6 separate regions of the Homo sapiens genome follow, and all the other regions are linked to region 1. The links are contacts of gene promoters, found by promoter capture Hi-C in blood cells and fetal thymus (Javierre and others, 2016). All regions are on one chromosome and are shown on one strand. Each heading gives the region's core, a stretch centred on a gene start or on the middle of the fragment in contact. The rest is flanking DNA. Distances are from core to core; before and after follow the strand shown. Region 1 holds the start of ARAP2 (ArfGAP with RhoGAP domain, ankyrin repeat and PH domain 2). Region 2 overlaps NWD2 (NACHT and WD repeat domain containing 2). Region 3 overlaps NWD2 (NACHT and WD repeat domain containing 2). Region 4 overlaps NWD2 (NACHT and WD repeat domain containing 2). Region 5 overlaps NWD2 (NACHT and WD repeat domain containing 2). Region 6 overlaps NWD2 (NACHT and WD repeat domain containing 2).

Region 1 (4,760 bases), core at 441-2,940:
TCTCTCACTTACCCTCTAGGTACATTTTAATTCAAATAAATCTTTGAGTACTGACAAATCTATATAAAACCCTCTTCGTGTTAGGAACCACCTTAAATGTGTATGTGTTAAATATGTTTAGAAAGAAGCCAGGAAGATATTTGCACTTAACCCTAGCCTAGTTCCATGACCCACTTTTTTTTCTTCTTTAAACGTTGTTGGACAAAAAATGTCATGAGTATTTTCTCTCAATATTTCTCCTGTAAGTGTATGGAAGTCATAAATAAGAGTTAAAAAAAAAAGAGTTTAAAGGTATTTCTCTTTTTTTCCTTAAAAAAAGTTAGCTTGCTTTTTATCTTCCAATTACTTACGGGCAAAGTTCCATGGGCCTGTGGGGGTGTAGAGTGCTTAAGTGCAGATAAATCAATACTGAGCTTGTAAGTACAATACTATTATGAGTAATAACAATGACATCCTATTAAATGTACTTTTAAAAATAGCTTATTTTCAATACACTTCTTGATTTTTTTTAAACCGAAGGCTGTATTCTACTGAACAGCCTACTTCAAGGACAAGCTTGCAAAAAAAAAAAAAAAAAAAAAAAGAATTTGCTATCAGGATACCTACTTACAACACCCTAAGATGTCATTATTCCACACAAATTAGCTTATTTTCTTGTGTTTTCCTCTAATTATCAAAGGCTATATAATCCACGAACCCTTTCCCCAAATCAAAATAACTCCAGATCACCTCAAGGTAGGAGGTGTTTAAGAAAACAAGCCAGAATTAGATAAAGTAAAACTTACTTTATTAAATAGGATGGACACCACTTCTCCCAAGAGAACTGTCTCCAAAAGTAAACAAGAAAGATCAATCTGGTAAACTCACATCATACAGGTTCCCGTGTAAGGTATCGGGTTCAGGCAGGTGGAAGCCAAATGATCGTAATTAAAGTTAATTAACAGGCCAGTCGTCTTAACGTGGTTAACAAGCAGGGTGCGGGGCAGCACAGACACCCGGGCAAATTCATGATCTCTACCGAGTAAATAACTTGGTGCCTGAAACTCACTACAGCTTCTTCTTATTTAAAGGTAGGGGAGAGGAATGGAGGGAGTGTCCAGCTGTCTATCCGGATCCTCACCCTCCCGGGTCAAATCCCAGAAGTGGAGTTCTTGGATCACTTACCGGCTTCTGGTTTCCTTTCAGACGCCCACACGCGGGAGCGAAATCCAAGGGGCGGACACCAGAGCCGAGCACTTTGCGCTGAGGAAATTTACCCGGTGAAGTGTCGAAAAGCCCCAGCCCCTCCAGACAGGGTCCTCCCACCCCCGCGTGGGCCATCCCGGCCCAGCCTTCCCGAGGCCCCGGGTACTCGCCTTGCGCTCGGGTCGCGGAGTTCGAAAAGCGAGGTGAGGCGGCGCTGGGAAGCTCAGCGCCGGCGTCTCTCCCAGCCTTGGGCGCTCGGTCCTCGCCCCTCTGCCGGAGGCGCCAGGCCTCCTCTTTCCCGGTCCCCGCCGGCTGTCCGCAGTCGCCTCTGCTGCCTGGCGGCGGCCGCGCGGGCGGCGCTGTTAGTGGGGCCGGCGTGTCGCGGCCGCCGCACCTGGAGGCGGGGAGCGCGGGCCGCGGACCCGCGCTCAGCTCCGGAAACGCCGAGCCCGGCGCCCGCGCCTTGCTCAGGTGCTCCCGCGCCTCGCCTCGGCCGCCGCTTCCTCTCCGCCCGCGGGGGCGGGGAGCAGGCGCCCCGCGCGGGGGAAGCCGGAGCTCAACGGCGGGGGCGGCCCAGCCGGCCTCCCTGGTTCCGCAGCATAGTTGGGTGACTGACTCAGACCGCCGCGACTTGGCCGCGCCTGGCACCCTCGCCACCTGGCGCACCTCGGCCCGGAGGCGTCAGACCCCGCTGGGGAAGCTGCGGGGGCGCGCCCTGGAGCCCAGAGCGACAGGGGCATTACCCACCTTCCCGGGACGGAGATGCCCAGGACCTTGTGTTGGCTCCTCCTGGCCAGTGGGTTTGTCTGTGCGCACTCATGGGGGGTTGAATGTCAAATGGGCGGAACCTCGCCACGACTGATTATTAGTATTACTCTTCCAAGTACTTAAAGTGTTAGCTCAGCGTTTCCCAAACTGAAGACTCATCTAGGGCACTATTTTCCCCAGGCTGCTTCTATGTAAATTTGCTCCTTCTTGCACCTGTGGCGGTTAGATCCCAGAGGGGCATTTCCCCTTTGAGTTGGACTCTGACAAAGGAGGCAGCGAAGGAAAATAGGGGATCCCAAAGAACCCTTGTGGACCTCCAAATATCTAAGCGTCCGTAAAATCCAGTTATTTGCAAGTGAGTTCACAGACCAACTACTTTTTTTTTTTTTTTTTAGACAGGGTCTCACTTTGTCACCCAGGCTGGAGTGTAGTGAGGCAATCTCAGCTCATTGCGCCTCCGCCTCTGGGTCCAAGCTATCCTCCCACGTCAGCCTCCCAGGTAGCTGGGATTACAGGCGCGCACCATCAGCCAAGGTAATTTTTTTTGTATTTTTGGTATAGACGGAGTTTCGCCTTGTTGCCCAGGCTGGTCTCAAACTCCTGACCTCAAGTGATCCACCTGCCTCGGCCTCCCAAAGTGCTGGGATTACAGGCGTGAGACACTGCCCCCTACCAGCTTTTTTTTTTTTTTTTATAAACATCTCCCACAGACTACCTGAAATTCTCTTCATTAAAAGGTGAAATGTATTTATCTTTCCCCTGTTCCTGTTGATGGAAGTGAAGCAATTAAGGAAAGCGCAGACCTTATGAAAATGAGATAATTGGTGAAGTGCGGAAAGAGAGAGGCTTCCCACAAGCCTGGGCCCTTAGGATTCTTCAGTCATCACCTTCACCCACACTAACTACCTGCCCAAAGCACCGTCTTTCCCTGGGGAGACTCTGAAGCAGCTCTGTCTTACTAGAGACACCAAATATCCAGTTCCTTTTGAACTTAATACCTCATAGCCGACCTCATTTCCACCAGGAAAGTTTTATTGACATTTTCCAAACCACGGGAACTTTTTCTCTGGATTCCTATAGCATTTATAGGAGGAATTTTATTTATGTGGCTCTTTTCTGGCTTCATTCTCTGTGTGTGTGTGTTTCTTTTGTTCTTTTTCCCTTTTCCCTCTCCAAATTCTCACATACTTCTCTCTTTTTTTTTATCTCTCTCTTTTTTGTTTTTGTTTTTGTTTTCGACTGAGCCCCGCTGTATCGCCCAGGCTGGAGCGTGGAGAGCAGTGGCGCGATCTCAGCTCACTGCAGCCTCCGCCTCCTGGGTTCAAGCCATTCTCCCGCCTCAGCCTCCTGAGTAGCTGGGATTACAGGCATGCACCACCACGCCTAGCTAATTTTCGTGTTTTTAGTAGAGGCAGGGTTTCACCATGTTGGCCAGGGTGGTCTGAAACTCATGGCCTCAAGTGATTCGCCTGCGTTGGCCTCCAGAAGTGCTGAGATTACAGGCGTGAGCCACCATGCCTGGCTCTATTTTTATCATTGTAAGCCATCTTCGGTCCTTCTCTAAACAAGGTGGGTTATAAATAAAAATTATTAGATCAGTTATCTTATGTGTGGGAGGTTCAATCATTGCTTTGTCCTCAAGTTACTTCGCTTGGTAGATTTTATAAACTAATTGAGAAATTGTCTCTCTCCCTCTTCGCAAAAATATCTTAGTTCTTTGATTATTATTCAGTCATTTATTCTTTAAAAATTATTAATCACTGTTTGGCATTTTGAAAATACAGTGTTTAGCAAATACAATGCAATCTCTGGATTTATGTTTTCTGAGGGGAAATAAAGGTAAATGCTACAAGGTACAACAATGACTTCATAATAGCCCTGGGAAATAAAGAAGAACAATGCTCACTTATTGAATGTATACATTAGTTATAAGATGTATTCTGGTTTAATGAATCTTAATATATGGAGGAAAATAAAAATGTCTGAGGAAATACGGCAAAAGCTATCTTTTATTAATTGATCGATAGTCACCAGACTCTAGTCAAATACCTAACATATATGCTGTGTATACACAACGTGTGTGAGTTAAAATTCTTTTTTCAATTTTATAAATATAGGTTTAATTGAAACTTAAAGAGGTTAAGTAGTAAATAGTGAATACATTGAATACATTTAGGCTATATTCTTAGGGTATAAATTTTTTATTTTGCAACCTTCACAGTGAGGTATTCAGAGAGCAAAGTACACAGGGAAATTGGCTTTACAAGGATTAAGGTATGGGCCAGGCACAGTGGCTCAGGCCTGTAATCTCAGCACTTTGGGAGGCAGAGGCGGGCAGATAACCTGAGGTCTGGAGTTCGAGACCAGCCTGGCCAACATGGCGAAACCCCATCTCTACTAAAAATACAAAAAAATTAGCTGGACATGGTGGTGCATGCCTGTAATCCCAGCTACTCAGGAGGCTGAGGCAGGAGAATCGCTTGAACCTGGGAGGTGGAGGTTGCAGTGAGCCGAGATTGCACCATTGCACTCCAGACTCCAGCCTGGACAATGAGACTGAAACTCCATCCCCTCCCCTCCAAAAAAAAAAAAAAAAAAGGTAAGAAAATATGTTTAATCTCAAGACCATTGGAACATATATTCCCAGTAATTTTCATCTAGGCTGAAATGATTCCACAATGACGAGCTCCTGCACATTTTTCCCAGATTTTTAGTAAAAAAGCAGGTAAAGATGTGTCTGTGCCTATCTATGTATTTACTATTGTGATCTCTTGTTGCTTTACTTGTCGAGGAGACAATTTGAGAGA
Region 2 (4,710 bases), core at 612-3,111, 1.1 Mb after region 1:
GAGTTTAAGTTCAATTTTATTATCTAAGCTTCCTCGAAGAGAAAATGAAAAACAGTCCCCCCAAAATCATAGTATTAGAAACTTTTGGTTAAGAAAGTGAACATTGTGACAGGGTGTCAGTTGTTGTCCATTTTGGATGGTGGACCACAATTCCAAGAACGGAAGGAAGTCCATTTTCCCATGTAACAATGGCAAATGCCAGCCAAATTCTAACCTAATTTTGCCAGGATCTTAGGACAATTCCCCAACTTGTTACACAATCACCATTCTGCTGGCACTTGTGTTTTGCCTTGTTTCCCTGAATGGTTTGTTTTTTATTTTTTTTCTTAATTTGAGTGACCTTTGAGCCAGAAGAACTTGTCATTTGGTGACTCTTGTGAAAGTGTTTATTTTTATACACTCCATGTGTCCTTCTAAATGTAATTTTGTAAATCATAAAAATAAAAAATTAGGCTTTTTCTGTAATGCTGGGCTCAACAACAGATTTCTTTAAAAATGGAGAAGTTTAAAGAATTAGGCTTTTTGCTGAAATTCACAAGGATTTATTTGTTGTTTTAAAGCTGCTTTGGGAACAAACATTTGTTTTGATAGTTTTACAAGTAGAAACTATAAAACTAATGGAATTGCTCGTATTCATTTGTGTTAAGGTTATAAAGCTACTTACAATTGCAGTTCACATTTTGTAACTCAACTTTCAAGCTAATTGTGGAAAGGAAATCTGAAACTTGCCAAATCCTTGATAATCTGGACTCCTCACTTACCCCACTCAACTCCCCCAAAAATCTTTCATTCTAGTGGTCTGGTAATTCAGTGGAAAACCACATGACAGGGTTCATAAATTTATCCAGTGGTTTTTATACCTAAGGATAACACTTTCTGGTCTGTTTTGCAGGCTTTTCACAGGAAGAATTGTGATGGTCAGAGCCAATGTAGTCGGTCAAATCTAAGACTAAGAATAAATGTAGCAAACACATCCAACATAATTCTGTTGGAAGGACTTAAGCCATTTAGTCCGTCCAACAGAATGATGAGGATAGTACTGTTGTCTGCACTTCACAGAACAAACAGAGACACAGAGAGGTTGAGTAACTTTCCCAGAGCCACACAGTAAGTGGGGAGCCGGAATTCAAACCCTAATAGCCTAGTTTCAGGGTACATTCCCTTTTGTGTCATGCTTTTGTATTTCAAAAAGCACATGACATATGTTTTATTATTTAATCCTCTAAATACCTCCAGGAGGTATTCAGATTTTATAATGCTTTTTGTTGGTGTGGGTTCACTGAGACACGGAATTGTGGAGCAGAACTAACCCAGACCGTACATGAGTAGATGATGAAGTAGTCCCAACCCGAGGCCTCCTGACTGCAAGCCTGTGGCTCTCAGGGAGGTTTTGTTTTTGTTTTGCCAAGGAACACTTTCATTAAATAAAAACTGCATCAAACTCTGTTACAAATGAAGGTGTAACTGTTCTTAGTAGGGGACAGATGGGCACTTGGACTTCTCTCCTACCTGTACCTATTTCCATCCCACCCGCAGAGGCCCTAAATGGCTCCATAGAATACAACTGGAAGCCCACTGCTTTACCCCGTGTTATCTTTCAGATATATATATATTACATATATTAGCACTGGAAAGAGCAGAAATTACTGGAAACAACCGAAAAGTAAAGGCAAGAAGCATTTGAACTTGGCTCCGCCACTTGTTCTATGTTCATCTCTAAAATAAGAATAAGAATTAATGCATTTCATTGATTGCTTCTAGTGAGTCAAGCACTAAGCATTTTCTCACGTAATCCTTACAGCAACCCTGTGAGTTGCAGGTATTGTTATACCAATTTACAGATGAAAAATAAACGTTCAGATTAACTTCTCCAGGGCTACTAGGCTAGAAAATTGTAGTTGGAATTCAAAACCACATCTGTTTGACGATAAAGTCCGGACTCTTAACCTACCTAGGATTGGGGAAATTACATGAGACACAGCTCCTAATGTGTGCTGCAGTAGACAGTCAATAAATGGCAGATGTTATTTTGGGGGAGACTGTTTAAGAGTACGGACTCTGAAATCAGACCATCAGTATTTACATATCTGTTCTATCATATAATGTGTGACCTTGGACAAATGTTTTTCTCCCTCTAGGCTTTAATTCCTTCATTTATAAAGTTTGAATAATATTAAAACTTACTATACAATTTTTATGAAGATCAAATAGGATATTGTGTTTATGTTGCTTAGCACAGGGTCTTACCCATAGTATGCCTTAAATAAATGCTAGCTATGGTTATTATTAGGAACTATATGCTAAGGAATCACAAGCCAAAAAAAAAGTGGATTTCATGAATAGTCTACATTATCTCATTTTGTTTCACCAAAACTTCTGTGAAGTAAGTACTACATTATTTTCATATTACAAATGCTATTTTGAGAGGTGTTTTTAATTTCTTAAGTACTCACAGCTAGCAAGTGATGAAGCTAGAATGTGAGCAGGCAGGTGGAATTCGGAGGCTTCATCCACATTCTGTATTGATTCTGACAAACTATTTAAGATAAACGTTCCCCCCAGTCTTGATGGAGCCCAAGAGTTAGGGACTTAGCCAATCAGGAAATGCTCTTCTTTCTCCTGCTTAAATTCAGAACCAGTTGAAAGGTGGTTGCAGGAATCAGGTAGATGGAGATTAAAATCTCACCTTTTTTATGATAAAGCTATTGAAGGAAATGACTTAGATCCTAATGTCGAGCAAAATAATCTTTCAAGAGACAGAATGAACCACCCACTGGTGATCCTAACACGTCAAGCCTCCCCCCAAGCCCTAGCCCCACCCCAAGAAGCCTGAAATGTGCCCTGTGGAGGATTTGAGCTGAATTCCAGCACAGCTAGCATGGATTTGAGCAGACAGAGCCCAGAGTGAGGTAGAGAGGGCCGAGTCACTCATATCCCACTTCCTCTTCCCACGTCACCATCAGTGACTCCTGCTCTCCTGGGTGGAGTGAGTGAAGGTGGAGAAGAGCCCCGGGTGTTAATCTAATGGAGCTCCTCCAAATAGAAACACCTGGAGTGGGATATCGAATCCCATTTAACATCCCCAGGTTTGTCTTCTCTCAGCGTCACTGGGATCAGCCACTGAGACTCTGGGTTATCCCTCTGTATGGCTGCCACCTGGAGTGCGAGGAGATTAACATCTGTCAGGGCAGGACTACCTCCAACTCCATGAGGCCGCTCCCTCAGAGCCCACTACTGCTGCTTTGGGCATCCTCCCTTGGCTGTGTTTATTTTATCCTCTGAAAGCTCCAAACAGGACAGAAATACACAATTATGAAATTAATACCAAAGCTACTCTGCATCTAAAGTCAATCTGTATTCTATTTCCCATCCCCATTTACCTGTAACCACATTTCCAACTTCAGAGGTTCTGTACCAAGCTGAAATGACAGCCCATCTGTTGCAGAAGTGAAATGAAAATACTATAAACAGTTCTATATTTGAATATAAATCTCATTACAAAGGGAGAAATTAAAGTTTAAAAATCAATGTTCCAAAGAATTCAACTATGAAGTAGTTAAGTCACATTTCAAAAGAATTGATGTTGAAGAGAAAATTCTCTTGCTTTTGTGGGATAACATTTTTTTAAATTTCAAAATTGATCTGAATATTTTATCTGTTCAGTCTAATTCAGAGACATTCGTGACACTGTGGGCAAGCTTGGACTGTCCTCTCCTGGATGCGTGTCACTGCTCCAGCATCTCACAAATAAAATTTTACATTTCTCAAGAGAGAAGAAAACACAGCAAACACCCATGAAATGTAGAAAACAAGTTAGCCCAAGGCCCTAAAGAAGTTAGTCCAGGCATACTTGTATTTCGCAAATCCACACTTTGTGTTGCCAAAAACCACAGCAGAGATTTCAGGGGTAGCAAGTGAAAGACAGAGATCAGGAAAGTCCCGGTTTCCACCTTGCCAGGATGTCAGTGGGTCTGCGCCTGCACACCAGTGAACCTAGATTATTTAGGTTCACTACACCTGCACTCCAGTGAACCTAGATTTATTTAAGAGAATGCTGCCATCAAGAGATTGATTTTGGCCCTCTGTTTACCATATTAAGGAGGATGTTTTTCCCTAGGTGTACTGTCTTCCATCACAAGACATGACATTGACACATTCCTGCCTTGCAAATTTCGACATTTGGAATGGTGGCAACCTCAGCATCAAATTTTATTTGAGAGTTTCCTCAGTGGTAATGTTCCACACTTCTCTCTCCCCTTTTCCCCTGTGAGCCCGGGTTTCTAGCCTCCCAATGCTGCAGTGAGGAATGATTTTCACTGAATCAACAAATTTGTTCCAGCTGGAGAATTTCCTGAAATTTTATTTTTATTTTTTATATATTTATTTATTTATTTATTGAGGCAGGCTCTGGCTCTGTCACCCAGGCTGGAGTGCAATGGCGTGATCACGGCTCACTGCAGCCTCCACTCACCAGGTTCAAGCAATTCTTGTGCCTCAGCCTCCCGAGTAGCTGGGATTACAGGCGCACACCACCAGGCCTGGCTAATTTTTGGATTTTTTTTAGTGGAGATGGGGTTTCACCATGTTGCCAAGGCTGGTCTTGAACTCCTAAGCTCAGGCAATCCACCCACCTTGACCTCCCAAAGTGGTGGGGTTACTGATGTAAGCCACCGCACCCGGCCGCCTGAAAAAAACTCCTGAGCTGAAAGT
Region 3 (4,346 bases), core at 1,718-4,217, 1.2 Mb after region 1:
ATCTGGCGGCAGAGGTTGTCTCGGGATGGTCGCTACCTGGTATACATTTGTTTCCGAAATGGGGAGGAGGAGGATGAAAATGGTGCAATATTCAGTTTAATTGTAATGAGACTGGCAGATGGCAAAAATATCGGTGCTTGTTCCCTTTACAAAACACCAACTTTCCTTGCACTCTCCCAGAGGCACCTGAACATCATTGTGGGCTTTGATGATGGGAGTATAGGGATCTACACGGTAGTAGACCGTGTAGATGCTGCACTGAAAATCAAAATTGCCACTTCAAATAGCAGACAAATTTTCAACAATGCAACACACACCTCCAGGCCAAAGTGTAACAGTTATTGTTTTAAAATATCTGTGGATTGCTTATGGAGAGAGTCCACTGAGGTCTTTGCAAGAGACAGCCCCATCACAGTTAGTGACTCTACTGAGTCCAATGAAGCAACACCCTCCAAGAAACACAACTCTTGTTATGAGCGGGTATGCTCGGCCCTAGAAGCCAGGGGCCACAGCTATGCCCCTGATAACTGACAAAATGTTTTCCAGCTAAGCAGAAATATGTGATCCACGTACAGAAGGGAAAAAAATGTGCCCCAAATGATAAACTATTCATTTATTAAAAGGCAGGAGCGATGCTGGAATTCCAGTGTTTTATTAAGATGTTCATGAAATGGACAAATAGGTTAGTCTTGGGTGTGGTCTTTTTGTCAAAGTGTATCCAGAATGTCAGAATTTCTAGTAGTAATATTTAAATGGTTACTTCATCTGAAAGGCAGAGGCTAAAAGTTTTTAAATTAGCTGTGTGGTGAGGCAGCATAATACATCCCACTGGTTAAGATGAGAGAGGCTAGAGTTATATACAGATCATTTGGATGGGAATTAGTTCTACAAAAATCAGCTGAAATCATGAAGACAAAGAGCTGCTTGACTTCAAATGATTGTGTGATAAGTAAACACAGCCTTAATCTCTCTTTACATTTTACAGTCCTGACAACTGTGTACACCTAGTCTGCAGTGAACGGTCTAAAGGTGCAAAATATGTAACAAAAATACCCAAGTGTATTCCCAGTTTCCCGAGAGATATGACCTGAAACATGAGACTGTGGACTGGACTGGGACAAGAACTAACTACCACTATCATAGGGCTACTGAACATGGAGAGTCAGTCTTTATTAAAAGACAGTTGCAACAATTGCATGCGAGGGTTTCTGTATAACAGAATATATGATTTTTAAACTATTTCCTGGGTTGCAAAAGAACACATTTAGTAAGAAACAACAATCTTTTCGCATCTTTTTGAAATGCATATTTGTGCTGGGTGTAAAGAAGATTACAGGAAGGGCATTACAAATCTGGTCAAAACACCTGTCCATTTCCATCATTGTACTAACAGAAGTCTGTACTATTTGGTCAGTTTGTATGGAAGCATAAATATTCCCTAAATTCCTGCAGTTAGTCTTCATAGAAAGCAAGCTTTCTCAACATGCCATCTCTGAGATACTGATGACGTTTGCCTTACTCACATTCCTTCTCTTTCCTGTGTAAAATGCAGATAGATGACCAAATACTCTGGGATAAACTGAATATGCCTGTCTTTGTGCTAAAATATTCCATAAATCTTAAGGGTGTCCAAAAGTTCTTTATTGTCCTTGTTTGTAATCACTTTCTTACTTCTACACACCATCTGTATGCTTCTTTATCTGTTACTCTTCCTGATTGAGGACTCTTCTGAGCCTTTTATAGTCCTATCCATTTCAAAGCAGAAGCTGTGGAATGGTATTAAATATTTTTTAAAATTAATTCACCTGTTTAAAAGAAAACATTGCATCTCAAAAGGTGAAGATGATTGTTCTTTCTTCCATATCCTCCTTACGGCATGTCCTTGGATAACTTTTCAAAAGGTATCCACACTTTTGGTTGAGTTTAGTTTTCTTAGAAAGTAGAGAAGTAACACTTTACTAGAATAATGAACAAGGAATTGATTTGCTCTAGGCCCAGCTCTGCCATAAACTCATTGTGTATTCCTAGACAGGTCTTTAACTTCATCAGTGTGTTGTTTTTGTGAAGTGCAAAATAAAGATAGTGATAGTTTCTGCTGTAGCCCTCATAGGGACATTGGGAAGCAGTATAAGAAAAACTTCAGCAACATCATGATTATTGATGCTAATAGGAAAAATAAATTCATGTAACCCATAGAGAATCCAGGTCAATTGTATTTCCTCTTGGAAAGCAGTTTAACATGTAAGCGTTCAAAGATGTGATTCAGATAAAAATACCCAGGTCCATAGTGAAAGATGTTTTTCAGTATGTTACTTATGGTTTAGCTACTAGCCAGGGAGGTGGTAGCCCAGAGAAGGCAAACCACATACAGATCACCTGGAGTTGATTATATGAGTCTATGCTTTTGAGCTCTTTAGGCAACACATTCTCATTCCTGTCATTATCAGTTGAACCTCCATGCCACACATTTCTAAGAATTAAATGCCTAGATGGATTAAATGTAGTATGTGAATGTTCTATGTAAAAGCCAATAGAGTATACAAGTGACTTGAATGATTTTTCCTAACTTGTTTGCAACTGATAGCTCATATTGAATGTTTTTATGTAAACTTTGTATCGTTGGGAAGAATTACCCAATCAGAGATTTATATTTTCATAAATGTTACATTTAGTTAAATTTTGTTACAGAGTTGTTACACTAGAAAATTATTTCAGTCTTCAAACAATATACAGTCTTGTGTATGTATTATTTGTATGAATAAAAGATAAACTACTTAGATTGGCGTGCTGTTTTTCTCCCCCATTTTTGGCAGATGTGATTAGAGACCTTCAGTAATAATAATAACTGTTCATGCTTACTGCTTATGTTGCACCAGGCACTGTACTTGGAGCTTTGCATGTACTAAGCCATTTAAACTTCACAACAGCCCTGTGAAGTAGGTACTGTTAGCATTCCAAATGTATAGGTAAAGAAACCTAGAAACGGGTCCAGGGAGAATAGCTGAACAAGATTTCAGTGCACTCTCAGTGTCTTTTTCCTTAACTTTCTCAAAGTACATCAAAACAGAGCATTTAGTATCTAGTAGGCACTTAGAGATCAATAATGACCTGCAAGGTGTTTTCTAACTTGCAGGTGGGAGACTGGGCTAGCTCTGAAGATCACTGAAATTTGCTGCAAACTCTCACGTTTTTCAGGTATACAGAAATAGTTGATGAATTCATTAATAGAAGGATGGGGAGGAAGGAGAAGAAGGGTGATGACTGAGGAGTTGTCTCTCTCATAAATTCCCTTTGCGCGAACGAGCAGGACCAAGGGGAGCCTTCCCACATGCCCTTTCTTCCATCTCTTGCCTCTTGGATCTGAGAATCCACACACGCACCAAAAAATATTTTTAAAAAACAGAAACAGAGGAGTATTGGTGAGCTTAAGTGATGATACATAGGAAATAATCTGAAAGCTAGTATCTAGTTGTCATGAAATAATTGTTCTCAGAGAAACTTTAATGTGTTACGAAAATAAATTATTCTGGTTTATTGCCTGCATCACATGGCTGAGACTAACGTGTTCAAAATTTACCACCACTGAAAACAATTCCATTACTTACAAAGGGTAATATCTTTAGGTTGAAAAGGCTAAACCCCTCTCCTTTTAGTTCTCAAAGAAAATGTAGAGAAGTTAATAAATATTTGCAAAAAAGCATTTCAAATAAATAGAGTTTGTTTAAATATCTTCTTTCCTAGAGCCAAGAACACAACAGTCAACACTGTATGCTTGCTATGCCCAAGGCATTATGCTAGATCCTGGAATGATTTGAAAAGTCACGCATGACTCCTGCCATCCAGAACCCTACAGTCTAGAAGAGACACAGCTAAACCAGATGAGACTGATTTCAAAGTTAGTAAGAGTGAGAGCCAGGTGCTGAGGATACACTACAGAGGAGCAATTAACACTACCTGAATATCGAAAAGGTTGACCCAGAGGAGATAGAGCTGAGGCTAGAAGAATAATTAGGACTTAGCTGTCAATGTCAGAGAGACATTTCAGGTAAAGGAAGCTGCATGAGCAAAAATGGGCATTGAAGCATATTTCAGGCGACTTCAAATGCTGTTGGGATTTTAGACTTTATTCAGTAGTCAATAGTGTCACTGAAAGCCAGGGGCCCAGCCTAGGTCCTGTTGCTCACTACACAGAAAGCCAATCACTAAGGCAATGAGTATTGTCAGGGAAGAAGGCTTTATTATGGGTGATATCAGCCAGAGACAGGAGACAAGACTCAAATCTGAATCTCCCCTGGCTAAAGTTGGGGTTTATATGGGGGGAGAAAACAGGCAGGGCAAGGAAGAGG
Region 4 (4,168 bases), core at 479-2,978, 1.2 Mb after region 1:
TAAGCTTCTTCAGCTCAACAGGTCTCAGTCAGGGAGTCAAATGTGATCTGCCCAGTCTCTACAGATGGAACTTCCCTCCCTTGATGAGAGAAGTGGAACTCAATCTGAGGAAAGTAAAAAGCAAAGCGAGGCTGGGCACGGTGGCTCACCCCTGTAATCCCAGCACTTTGGAAGGCCGAGGCGGGTGGATCAACTGAGGTCAGGAGTTCGAGACCAGCCTAGCCAACATGGTGAAACCCCATCTCTACTAAAAATACAAAAATTAGCCGGGTGTGGTGGTGGATGCCTGTAATCCCAGCTACTCGGGAGGCTGAAGTGGGAGAATTGCTTGAACCCAGGAGGCGGAGGTTGCAGTGAGCCAAGATCGTGCCATAGCACTCCAGCCTGGGTGACAAGAGTGAAACTCTGTTGCAAAAAAAAAAAGCGAAGCAACTCCTCTGGTTTCCTGGAATGAATCCCTCTCCAGTCTCCAGTCTTCAGTGAGATAGCCTGGGAGTTGGTGATAGGGATGAGCATCTCAGGAATAGGGTGGCCACTTTTTAGTCAGCCCAGCAGGTGTGTCTAGGAGCTTCTCATTACAGTGTTGCAATAGCCTATTGCCCTTCCTTCAGGTTTTAATGAAAATCCTGAGGTTTAGGGAAAGTCCTTGTGAGGGTTAGTTTTATGTGTCAAATTCACCGGGCCAGAGTACCCAGGTATTTGGTCAAATACCAGTCTGTATTTTTCTGTGAAAGTACTTTTTTAGATGAGATTAACATTTTAATCAGTAGACTTTGAGTAAAGCAGATTACCCTCCATCATGTGGATGGGCCTCATCCAATCAGTTGAAGAGGGCTTGAGAGATAAAGACTGAGGTCCCTCAGGAAGAAGGAATTCTGCCTGCATATTACCTTCAGGCTTGAGCTGCAACCCCAGCTCTCACCTTGGTTCTCCAGCCGCCAGCCTGCCCTGCAGAGTCGGACTTGCCAGCCCCCATAAAGTAGCTCGTTCTGGAGTGAAGGTGACTTCAGAGCCCTTATTACCAATTCCCCAGCGTTCTCAGGTTCATTGTAAGTACAGATCACTTTCATTAGACATTGTTGAAGGAAATTGCTTGACGAAGGAAATTTCTCGCCAGTACCCCTTGCCAAATGTTTGTCCCTAGCAACTTGTTACCCTGGGAACAGCCTCTCTCTCTCTCTCTCTCTCTCTTTCTCCCTCCCTCCTCTACTGCATCTTTCTGTTATTCTCTCTGTCCACTGCCTCTGGGTTCTGCATTGGCCATGCTATGGCTGTAGAAGGGTCTCATTGTGAGCACTCATTTGGTGGAAGCCTATCTTCCAAATCAACTCTAAATTGAAAACAGATCTGTCATTGTCCAGAAACATGCATTGAAGCAGCACCATTTAACTCCGCAACTGAGTGAGTTGCACAGTTTCATCACCACTACTTTGAATTAAAATAGATAACATTTACCAAATACTTACCATGGGCAGGCATTGTTCAAAGCACTCTATTCAAACATCAGTTAATCCTCACCAGATTCTTTGGAGGCTGGTACTTCAGTTAAGGCCATTTTACTAAGGCCCAAGGCCTAGAGGGGTTAAATAACTTATCCAGGGTCATAAACAAAATGTGGCACATATACACCATGGAATACTATGCAGCCATAAAAAAGAATGAGTTCATGTCCTTTTCACGGACATGGATGAAGCTGGAAACCATCATCCTCAGCAAAACAACACAGGAATAGAAAACCAAACACTGCATGTTCTCAGTCATAAGTGGGAGCTAAACAATGAGAGCACATGGACACAGGGAGGGGAACGTCACACACTGGGGCCTGTCGGAGGAGTGGGGAGAAAGGGGAGGGAGAGCATTAAGACAAATACCTAATGCATGCAGAGTTTAAAACCTACATGCCGGGTTCATAGGTGCAGCAAACCATGTCACCCAACCAATATGGCAGGGACAGGTTTCAAATCCCAGAAGTCTGCATTCAAAGCCTATGGTCTTTGCCACAACCTTTGGCCCCTAAAAAGGACATCCTGCTTTAGGGTCAGCCTTATCTTTATAAACAGACTCTTATGTGCTTTGCAAGTATTCGTGACTAAACAGGGTTATATTTTTTTAACTCACTATATATAATCATATCTATGCCAAAAAGAATTTAACAGAAACTTATATTAAAAGAAACAGTAAGTTTTTAGTTTTGCCTTTGCTTTTTTTTTCCACATTAAAAGAGACAAAAATGAATGCTGGCTAAGAAATAAGGAGCTAGGGAGAAACAACTATATCAGAAATGCCTTCAAGGGAAAACGCCAGATGTGAACAGAAGACAACATGGGATTTCTTGGCTGCCATGACAAAAAGTGGAACATAGTAAATTTCACATTTTTCATCATATGATAAAAACGAAGCATGACAGTTCATCAAGAAAGGTACACATTTTATAATACTGAATTTTGAAAGCAACATATTTAATGTTCTTTTTAAATGGCGGCTTGTGTCTTTAGTTGCACATTTAGAGACGTTGCAGATGAGGTCCACATATGAAGGTCAATGCTTATGGCTTTGTAATTTTCCCACCCAAGTCTCTCAAGAAATATCTAGATAAGGAGTTTGTCACACCAGCAGAGCCAATCACATTTTCATTTCATGGGTGGCTGAGGCAGTGGACCTCACTTTTTAAGCCTCTCTGGCCATCTTCTGGCTCCAAGAATATAGTAGGAACAGGCCTGGATTCAGCTTAACCCCAGTTTATATTATTTTTAATTCCAGACACCTTGGTTAAGATAAGTATTTTTAAAAGAATTTTTTGGCTTCTTTCCAATGCCCTTATTTTATTAGCTACATATCTTAAAGTTACTACTTTTGAATTAAAATGATGAAGGATTTCTCTTTGAGATCACTCAGTTGAAAAATCCCTCATTTAACCTGGTGGCCCAATATTTCCCTTATTCCTAGTTTTAAAATAGCTCTCTTTCCCACTTAAGACCTCTTTCTCCAATTCTGCCTATTGTTGATGTGAAGTGACCTCTGACTCAATCTTTTGGGGTGGTAACATGGTTTTCTTTTTTATCCTCTTTCTCCAGAACAAACTTAATTTCTGTAAGTTTCTTTAAGGCCTAAACTCTATGCTTTTACTTGGGATTGTAATTTTATGCTGCTTCTTCAGGTACAGTCCCATGCCAGTGGCATCTATATCACCTAGGAATTGCTTAGAAATGCAGATTGCCTGTCCTCATTCCAGAACTAAAGAATCAAAAATTCTAGGGAGAGGCCCGGTGTTTTAACAAGCTCACCAGATGCATGATTCTGATGCATGCTCAGGTTCGAGTATCACTAGACCAGGTTTTCCTTTCTGAAACTTTTAGACATTTCCTTTCTGTCTCACATATTTTCTAAATCAGTAAGTAGCAGGTAACTGGAGTTAAGATTGTAGACTCTGTATCCCCAACCATCTCAAAACTGGAAGCTTCAGCAACTTTGGAAATCAACAGAATCTAAACAGATACATATGGGTAAATTGCCCCTTTTAAAATCCCTTACCATTAGTTTGCCTTCCCACCCATTCTAATATTCCTAGTATTAGTCTCCAAGTGTGTTGCTATCTGTCCTATGTATCTTAAGTAATGAAGAAGCTCAGAGCTAACAGGTCAATTTCCCCAGCAATCCTTCCAGTGGGAAAATAAAGAGAAATTACCTTTGTGAGTTGTGTTTTAGGGCATCTGGCTCATTCAGCATGGATTTTTCCATTTGCCTGTGGCTGTTAACCAGCCTGCAGTGAAGAGGAATTGCCCATCTGTAGTCAGAAAATTGGAGTGGTGACATATATTTCCTCCCTTGAGTGACACAGAGAGTTCCCTCTCATCATCAATTCACTTAGAAGGACCATTTTCAATAGAAAAATGTACCTGATTCTTGCCCATGTTCAGAAAGCCAGCTAAGAATTCTCAAACATTTCATTTCAGTTCAGCTTTGTGACTAATTTCCCTATATGCCTGCTCTTGATGAGTAACTGACAAATAGCATTTTATGGAAGCTATGATGGAGTATTTTGCTTTTACTGTGACCATTAATGCATTACAAACAAAATGGAAAGTGTGTGGGTTTCATGTCAATCAATTTGCATTTCTTGAAATGAGAATTGGAAAAGCCAGATGGTCTTTCCTTAAAGAACAATAGT
Region 5 (4,232 bases), core at 430-2,929, 1.2 Mb after region 1:
AAAATTAACCATTTTAAAGTGAACAATTCAGTGACATTTACTACATTTACAGTGTTGTACAAACACCACCTCTATCCAGTTCCAAACCATTAGGAAGTGTTTATTATTCTAGAATTATACATGCAGAAACTACATAAAAGTCTGATAAATTTTTCTTAGATTTTTCAGCCTTTTGGACTTAACTCCCCAGATTATATTTGAGTGTTGTATTGTTGCTTTCTGCCTAGCTGATATTATGTGTCTTCAGTGTTTAAGAATAGGCCAATTTAAATGTGTTTCCACATTTGGTAAGGTGGATGGGAGAGAGGTGACTATAGATTTCTACAGACAGGCAAAATCCCATGTGTTTATTTTCACCTATGTATTGACAGAATGTTTAAACTATTCAATAAAAAGAAAATTCTTTCAGTCATATGCATTTCTTCTGTCTAGGGTCATAGGCAGATGGATCAACAGTGTAACTCATAAAAGTGGACTTCAATGCAAAATTCAATGTAGTCTCTCATCTCTGCACCAAGTGTTTCCCTACAAACTGGCAAAGTTGGTTTAACTAAGCAAAAAGCAAGCTTTTTGAGAATTGGGGTCAGAAGGATGTGGAAAATCTGTTTCTCTTTCAGTGGCTGGAATGAATACTCTATTGCCAGTGAACAGAGAAGGATGCCTTCTTGCTCATAGCTGCTGTGGCTGCCCTAAAGTCATTCATGGATACTCCCCATGGCTGCAGATCTAACGAATAGTCTAATTAGGAAACAAAACAGTGGAATCCATCTTGCTGCCTAGAGTTTAGCTGCTAGCCTCTTGAACTTGGTCTTCCATCTCCACCCCTGCTCTGGTCCATTGACCGTATGAGCTGGACTTTGCAACTGAGTTGGACTGCCCCCTTCTCTAAATTGACTCTGGTCCTGGTAAAATATTTGTGCATTGCCTTATTTGTAAATATTTGTGTGTTATCTTAGAACTGTAACTACACACACATACACAAACCAAAAATATCTTACTGAAAAATGTGGAAGCAAAATTCACTTTTGCTGTTTCTCAAATAGCAAGATAAGACTGAGGTAGAATCCTGTCTTAGACTCCTAAAAATTAACTGATTCATGATTTATGAGCATTCCACCTAAAGGAAGAATCAATAGAGAGAAGGAAAAGAGTAAGGGAGAACAATCCAATAAGTAACTTTAAGCCTGTAGCATATTATTACTTTTCTGAAGTTCTGTATTACCACTTTATATATAGTAGGCACTCAATATGTATTTGTTATTTGAATGGGATGAGGATATTTTTTCTTCTTTAGTAATCTTTAAGGAACATTCTGCCTTACTATATCGATTAAATAATTACAGTATTTGGTGCCAGGTGCTCAACTGAAAGAAATTATTATTTTTAAATAGCTCTTGATTTTTGAAATGATCCTCTGTGGTCCAGGCTCTGCCCCTTCAGTACTCGTTAACCATTCCTCATGAGACCATATATGCACTGCCCATAGCAATGGCTCTCAACTTCTGAATTCCTTTGGAACCTCATTTTAAAATGCAGTTTCCTTGGAATCTTCACTCACAATGTTCTTTCCATCTGAGAATGGACCTAGCAACCTACATTTTAGCAAGTACCCTGGGAGATCCAGGGAGCATATCATCCAGTAGATGATCTGTGGAGCATATTTTAGGAACCAATCCATAGATTTGACTGAATCCTAGTCTCTAAGACCAGCCTTGTTTAGAGCAGAAAGAAGTTGAAGAACGAACAGTACATTGCTGTGCAGTCATGATGGTGCTGTCCAGGGACAAGATCTTGTTTCTGTTCTCTCTCTTTTTTCCTCTTCCCTGCTTCATGCCCAAAACCCAGCTGGTCTTGCCTTGGATTGTAGTAGCTAGTCCATGATATTCCAAGACCTAATTGGCTACTAGATGGAGTGTTGTCAATTACTAAATCCCATATTTAATGTGCTGCCTGTCTACCTGGTCCTCCACCAATGACCAAACTCCATCTGTATACTTTCTTGAATTCTACCAATGCCTACTGCTTAGACATTCTCTTATTCCCTATTTTGCCCATGTGGGTCTGTTCGATGGCACATCCGAGCATTAAAACCTCATTCTTAGTGGCACACAACCCTGACAAAGAGTGCTGAGTGTCCAGAATTAGGCAAGATAATGGGATAATCACCAGGTTGGTTACCCTAAAAGAGATAATGTTCCTCTGTGTGTGTGATAAAATAAAAGGTCATGCCTATTTGCTTAGCAAAAGAGATTTTGGAAGAGGGAACCATTAGAAGTTGGGAAACAACTTGAGATACATCATTTGTGTTACATAAACCTGTTATCAAGATTGGCCCAATGTAGATTAAAATAGAAGTGCTCTTAATTGGGCTTCAGGCTAATACAGTGGGTTGGGATTAGCACACCCTCTGTAGAAGCCTCATATACCATGCTGAAATAATAGATACCAATAATGTGGCATCCCTCCATTCTAGCCCCTTCTAAAGGGACTTTTGCAGCCAAAAAGAACAGCTAGGTTAGATCTACTTCCTTTCTGGTCATTGAGGCCAGTACTGAGGAGGCTTGAGCTTTGAGGCAGTGAATTCAGTTACCCACAGTCACCTTCAGTAAACCAGTTATATGAGATGGCTTATGTGCTAAGGAGAGAGAGAGGACATGGTCCAACCAGGGATATGTTTATACAGTACCTGCTTAAGGAATATAGCTGAATTGAGTATTGCTCACAAAACTGGTACCTTCCCAAATTGTTACTCTACCTATTGAGAGCTGAACTATTTTATTTGACTACAGAAAGAAGCTTCAGAGAAGAGCAGAACAAACTTTAATGATTTCTTTCTCTGTCTTGGTTCATTCATTTAGTCAACAAATGTGTTTTAATCATTTCTATGAGCTAGGAATAAACAGCTCTGGCCTCTCCCTCAGAGAGCTTACCATTGTGTTGTAGAATTTAGGTCATGAATTTACGTGGACACAGATCTACCAAGGACTTCTCTTAATCTTTCAGCTGCCTGTATCAGATGAAAAGAACACTGTGAATACTGGATAGGCAATAGAAGTAGTCAGAAATGCCCCCTAGGGAAACCAGACCTGAAATTCACCTTCCAGTGGATAAACACAGCTTGATGTTTATGCTAAAATGCTAATCAACAAGAGGAAAGAAGAAAAATGCCCCCAGATTGAACAGAAAGTGTCTCATGGATACAATAAAGCAGACAAATTGCTTTGGTTACTGTAGGGTTATGTAAGAGGTCCTTTGTGTTCCCTCCTTATTTCTGCTAGATAAGATGAAGATTAATTGAAATACCAAGTGCTATATAAGCTAATAGTTTTATTAGCTTAAACCAGAAGTTCAGCCACCTGGAGGACTTGCTAAAACATAAATTGCTCAGCTCTGTAACCAGAGTTTAGTTTTTAGTAGCTCTGGGATGAGGCTTGAGAATTTACATGTTCCCAGGTGTTGCAGATGCTGCTGGTTCCAGGTCCACACTGTGAGAACTACTGGCGTAAGCAGACACTCTCAGCAACCTTGAAAGTGTTGCTCCACAAAGCAAATAGGCAGTACCACTAATTTTTTTTTAAGATGGAGTCTCACTATGTTGCCCAGGCTGGAGTGCAATGGCACGATCTTGGCTCACTGCAACTTCTGCCTTCCAGGTTAAAGCGATTCTCCTGCCTCAGCCTCCCCAGTACCTGGGATTACAGGCACACACCACCATGCCTGGCTAGTTTTTGTATTTTTAGTAGAGACAGGGTTTAACCATGTTGGCCAGGCTGATCTCAAACTCCTGACCTGAGGTGATCTGCTCGCCTTGGCCTCCCAAAGTGCTGGGATCACAAGTGTGAGCCACCAGGCCCGGCCTACACCACTAAATTTAAAATGTTTAAATACCTGCTGGTTTTCTCACTACAAAATAATATATATGTATACCAAAAAAAGGTTTTTAATAAAAAATAATAAACTTATTAAATGACCTATGTAAATTTAAAACCACCCAAAGATAGCCCTTAATAACCTTGCTTTGTATTTTTATAAAATGTTTCTTAGGTATGTTTGTGTATACATATATGCGTGCTATTCTCTCTAACATATGTACGTAATATTCTCTCTTTTCTCTATATATATAAATATCAAAATCACTGGAATCATCTTTTATTTTTTTGAGACAGAGTCTCATTCTGTTGACCAGGCTGGAGTGCAGTGGCGCAATCTTGGCTCACTGAAACCTCCCTCTT
Region 6 (4,603 bases), core at 2,058-4,557, 1.1 Mb after region 1:
ATAAATGTTTTCTTTACTTTTTCATTTTCTGGAAGCATGACCCTTTGCAAATTATGGCCTGTCCATTATTTAACAAATTAGACTATTTTATAGCCCTATTTATTCATTTATTACTAGATGATTTCTGTGCTCTTCTGAAGCTCAGTAATTTACAACTCTGATCAGTGGAACTTATTATGATGTGAAATACTCTGTATCTCCTTTGTCCAACATGAGAGCCAGTATGGGGCTACTGAGCACTTGAGGAACTGAATTTTTTAATTTTTACTAATTTATATTTACTTTTAAGTAGCCCCAGCTAGAGGCTCTCAAATTGGATAATGAAGTTACCTTCTTTGATGTCATCTTTCTTCGTATTGTGTGATTAAACTTTGTAAGATAGATTAAAGCATAGAGCCCCCAAAATCAAAATGCTGATATTTTCATATATGACAAAACCCATGGTATGGGCCATGAGAATATTTTTTAAAGAGCTGTCATTTATTTATCAGCCTTCTAAAACACTCAAATGCACTTAGACAAAGACCTGGAACAAGCCAGATCTGTGGGGGCCCATAGCCAAGAAATGGGAATCACACAAAGTCTCCAGAATCTGCTGGGGCCACAAGGGGAAACTCATACTGTGAGCTTCCATCTCACCAAATGCCGTGCAAGCAGGAGGAAAAGAGTAGGGAGGGTCTTGTTTCCACTTGTGGGAAGCAAGGAAAGGAAAAGAAGAAATTTTCAAAGCTACAACTGGGAACATTTACTTTATGCAGACAGCAGCTGAGTGAAGGTAATGAAATCCATGATGCTCTCCATAGCACTTTTCAAAGAGTGAACTTGTGAAAGTTTGTTATAGACTGCCAGAATCTTCCTTAGTAGTCTTTGAAGTAGGGAGATAGAGGATCCTATTATCCTCACTTTTCTGTAAGGCATACCTTTCATTTTTTTGCCCGTACATGTTTTTCAGATATATATTGATGAAAGCCAAACTGCTTACAGATAAAACAGACTTAAGCAAAATATCTCTCCTCATATGATAGAGTGTGATAATGACAGGGCTTTTTTTTTTTAAGAAATGTAGGTGTTTGACTTGAAATCAGTGTATAGTAATATTCATTATGGTTTCTTTTCTCAAATTAATACTTATGGTAACATTATATACATTTGGTGATTTAATTGTCTCAAGTACTATGGTAACATCATGCCAGCTGCTTCAAACCTTAAAATTCTGTTTCCATTTCAAGACAACAAAAGCCCGTGCTCCAAAACCTTCAACAGTTAGCATTTCATTTTCTCTGGGCCCATGTCAGCAGTATAATCAGAAACAAAAGAAGAAATTATAAGGTTCATTCCCAACCCATCATGGAATGAAAAATCTCTCTAAATGGATCTTAAAAATCACTTCCCCTCTGTAAGAGAAAACATGCTGCAAAGAGAAAAGTTAAAAGTCACATTAGCTTGACATTGTAAATAAAAACAAAGCCCACATGTAAACTAATGCTCTTCATCCATCTGTCCCCAGGTCATAGATCTGTACTGGGGAGTGGAAGAAGATGAGTGGGACAGCCCAGAGCTCCAGAAGACCCGCATGAAGCTGCTGGAGAATTGCTTGAAAACTTCTGCAGGTCCATGTTTTGTTGTGGGTATAAAAAAACTAATGCTTTATATTAACTTTTAGATGAATGTGAGAATTATTGCTGATTTGTGATTCATAAGGGGTTTTTTAAATGAGGGGGAAAAAGACTTTTTTATGTCTATTTAAACATTTTAAGCTGTCTCCTGGCTCTCAATGTATGAGAACAAAAAGCTTCAACTTTCCATAAGAAGTGCTGCCAATTAACGGTGAATAATTTGAACTGGTAATCAAAGGGATTGACTTGGGTTTGACAACAATTTCTACAACACCTTGTGATCAACAATAAGGATTACTCTTTCAGACCTACAATAATTATCCTAGGTTTTCTTATCTTATTGTATAATATATTCCATCATAGTGCTTCTAGTTCTTAACGCTAGAATTTCTGGCATTTTTTAACAAAATGGCTGAAACATTGTTAAAGTAAATCAAATATACTATGTCTCATCTGCCAGTAGCAAATGGTGCCCTGTGAAAATGTTTGTTTCTACAGTGATTTTCAGCTACATGTTCATTATAAGCTAAAGATCGACAGAGATATTCCAAGTGGAACATTATTATTAATTCATCGTTATTTTCTAAAGAATACTCACTCCTCTGTGTTAGCACGGTGGCAGTAAGATAAATAGGTCATTCTATGGCAGGTGGTTGTGCAAAAATCACTGCCTTAATTTAGCTTAAGAAAGACTTACCTTGAATTCAAACAGATCCTACCAATCGATAAGGGAAGTTGCCCCTTTGAACATAGGTTGCTCTAAGACTGACAGACGAGTGTTAAAATTACCAGTGAGTGCTATGAAAAAAAATCACACCGTACTGTTAAAAACTAGATTCAATATATCAGCAAAAGTGTTCTTAATATTTATTTGCATATCCGTCTATATTTGGCTCCGCATAGGATTAGGAAGACCTACAGAGATGATATCACAAATCTGACCAGCTGATGGTAAATTTCTTACCCAGGCTAGTAAAGTGTATAAAGGCTGTATCATATAGTATTTGTAGTATTCCATATATAGATAAGTTGATTACTCACTAACTGCCTGAGTGCTACCGTGTGCCAAGGGTTGCTCTTAGGTGCTGGGGGTGTGGTAGGTTGACCCATACGAAATTGTTATTTTGTGGGCCAGTTCCTTAGGATTCAACCTTAGAATTGAACTAAGAAGATAAAATTTTTTGCTTTCCCGGAGCTTACATTCTAATGTGGGTGGAAGGGGGAGAGGGCAGGCAAAACCCAAATAAGTAAGATAAACAGTAAGTCAGTTGGTGATAAGTGCTATGGAGAAAAATAGAGAAATGAAAGAAAAGAGAGAATACCAGCGAGGGGAGAGATTTGCTACTTAAGATAAAACAGTCAGAGGAGGCCTCACTGATAAGGTGACTCTGAAGGGGAGATGGAAAGAGGGGCAGGAAAGAACCAGGTGTGGATATTCCAAGTCAGGTATTCCAGGAAGAGGGGTTGGCATGTTCAGGAAACAGCAAGCAGGCCTCTGTGCCTAGAACAAGTATGAATAGGGAGGAGGGCATGGGATATGGGGAACGTATCATGGGGCCTTTTCATCTTTTATGATTAAGAGAATATTTTTATTTTTAAGACTAAGAAGACTATTGTTATGGCTCAGCATAATTGGGAACCATCGATTTTGGAAAGGTAATTTCAGTAAGACAATTCAATTCTGTAATCTTCAAGTTGACTTAAGGTTTTACCTCGAGTGACAGGAAAAACTGCAGAAGTGTTCTGAGCAGAGGAATGAAGTGATTTGACTTGTATTTTAAGCATGGCCTTGGCTGCTGGGTGAAGAATAGGGAACAGAGCAGGCAGACCTTTAGAGAGCTACTGCAATAAGCCAAATGAGAAAAATACGTGGTTTGGGGGGGTTGGGGGAACGAACACCGAAAAACAGTGTCCTGTGGCCTGAAAAGAATGCAAAAGAAGGCCTGAAAGTTGTGTTAAATATCTGAAGAGCAAGTAGCGGAAGAGATTCTTTTCCTTGGGTCATTGGAGGATAGAACTAGGAAGCAGATTTCAGCTTTGGGTGAAGAAGTTAAAGGATATATAGCTTCCTCTCAGGTTTTTGGATCCAGTATCCCTGGGTTCTGACCTGATATTTCATAGCTGTGTGGCACTGCAGGAGTTGCTCCACTATTCTAAGCCTCAGTTTTTTGTCTGTAAAATGGAAGTGATAATAACAGTTATCTACCTCATCGGGTCATTCTGAGAATCAAATGAAATTACAGGCAGTTTTATAGTATTTCACACATAGTAATCCATTAAAAAGTGTTCGTTGTTTCTTATTGTGTATTATTATCTATCACAGCTGCCTGAAGATGAAATCACCTGGCTCAAACTGTAATGATGCATCCCCAAAAAAGTTTTTATCAAAGTGAAGAACACAAACCACTGTGACAGGGGTGCTATAGAAGAGACTCAAATATTGGAAGACAGGTTAGGCCAGATTCCATTATGCTTAGAAAGCCAGATTTGGGAAGCATAACCCACTATGGGAGTGTCCTGGGAAACCTCAATTACTGTGATCTCCACAGCTTTACCGTAATCCAGCCTTGGAAATTCAGGAATGAGAGAGATGTTCTCCCCCTTTTATAACCCTGTTGAGTGCCATCCCTAAGCTAACTAAAATTAGACATGACTATGAATTCCAATAATTTGCTGGTAGGAGAATAAATAAAGACTTTGCAAGTTTATGCAGGTTATGAGAGCAAAGGTTAGCTGACAGAACAGCAGCAACATCTTTATTGAGCATAAACAAATCATTTATCCCTCCTTCTGCTCCCCTGTTACATGTTTAAACTCAGGGAAACCACGATAAAACCCTGCAGATAGAGCTAGGATTATTCACCCCAGCGATCCTAAATCACACAAGGCTTGTATCTCACAGCTTATAGAAAAAGAAAAAAAAAGTACTCCTCTTAGGGCCTTTCCTGTTGTAACTACGGTGACAACTGGCATGTGTGTGTTACTTT

The links. The method cuts DNA at HindIII sites, captures the fragments that hold promoters and counts their contacts. A CHiCAGO score of 5 or more calls a contact.
Region 2: a contact is called between a fragment that was not itself captured here and the fragment with the promoter of ARAP2 in region 1, in 2 of 17 cell types (M1 macrophages and M0 macrophages). The highest score is 8.3, in M1 macrophages.
Region 3: a fragment that was not itself captured here is called in contact with the fragment with the promoter of ARAP2 in region 1 in 1 of 17 cell types (monocytes); the score reaches 5.0 in monocytes.
Region 4: a fragment that was not itself captured here is called in contact with the fragment with the promoter of ARAP2 in region 1 in 2 of 17 cell types (M2 macrophages and M0 macrophages); the score reaches 10.2 in M2 macrophages.
Region 5: a fragment that was not itself captured here is called in contact with the fragment with the promoter of ARAP2 in region 1 in 1 of 17 cell types (M1 macrophages); the score reaches 5.8 in M1 macrophages.
Region 6: a contact is called between a fragment that was not itself captured here and the fragment with the promoter of ARAP2 in region 1, in 1 of 17 cell types (M0 macrophages). The highest score is 6.0, in M0 macrophages.

The regions. Positions count from the first base shown.
Region 1 is chr4:36,242,824-36,247,583 of GRCh38, forward strand. ARAP2 (ArfGAP with RhoGAP domain, ankyrin repeat and PH domain 2) reads right to left here and starts at 1,691. Exons shown (of 33, transcript NM_015230.4): 1 at 1,356-1,691. LOC439933 (a long non-coding RNA gene) reads left to right here and starts at 1,293. Exons shown (of 5, transcript NR_122079.1): 1 at 1,293-1,388; 2 at 2,349-2,487. RefSeq lists a silencer at 1,487-2,066. The HindIII fragment of the contact is 5,605 bases long and covers 554-4,760 here.
Region 2 is chr4:37,378,312-37,383,021 of GRCh38, forward strand. The region is part of intron 3 of NWD2 (NACHT and WD repeat domain containing 2); the gene reads left to right. Among named protein-coding and RNA genes, the nearest start is that of PGCKA1, 73 kb to the right of the region's middle. The HindIII fragment of the contact is 3,670 bases long and covers 27-3,696 here.
Region 3 is chr4:37,446,687-37,451,032 of GRCh38, forward strand. It overlaps NWD2 (NACHT and WD repeat domain containing 2), which reads left to right. Exons shown (of 7, transcript NM_001144990.2): 7 at 1-2,777. The coding sequence ends at 531. Among named protein-coding and RNA genes, the nearest start is that of PGCKA1, 5.1 kb to the right of the region's middle. The HindIII fragment of the contact is 2,993 bases long and covers 1,472-4,346 here.
Region 4 is chr4:37,396,622-37,400,789 of GRCh38, forward strand. The region is part of intron 3 of NWD2 (NACHT and WD repeat domain containing 2); the gene reads left to right. Among named protein-coding and RNA genes, the nearest start is that of PGCKA1, 55 kb to the right of the region's middle. The HindIII fragment of the contact is 3,453 bases long and covers 3-3,455 here.
Region 5 is chr4:37,425,174-37,429,405 of GRCh38, forward strand. All of the region lies in intron 3 of NWD2 (NACHT and WD repeat domain containing 2), which reads left to right. Among named protein-coding and RNA genes, the nearest start is that of PGCKA1, 27 kb to the right of the region's middle. The HindIII fragment of the contact is 2,230 bases long and covers 565-2,794 here.
Region 6 is chr4:37,354,859-37,359,461 of GRCh38, forward strand. NWD2 (NACHT and WD repeat domain containing 2) reads left to right here. Exons shown (of 7, transcript NM_001144990.2): 3 at 1,508-1,624. Among named protein-coding and RNA genes, the nearest start is that of PGCKA1, 97 kb to the right of the region's middle. The HindIII fragment of the contact is 3,035 bases long and covers 1,791-4,603 here.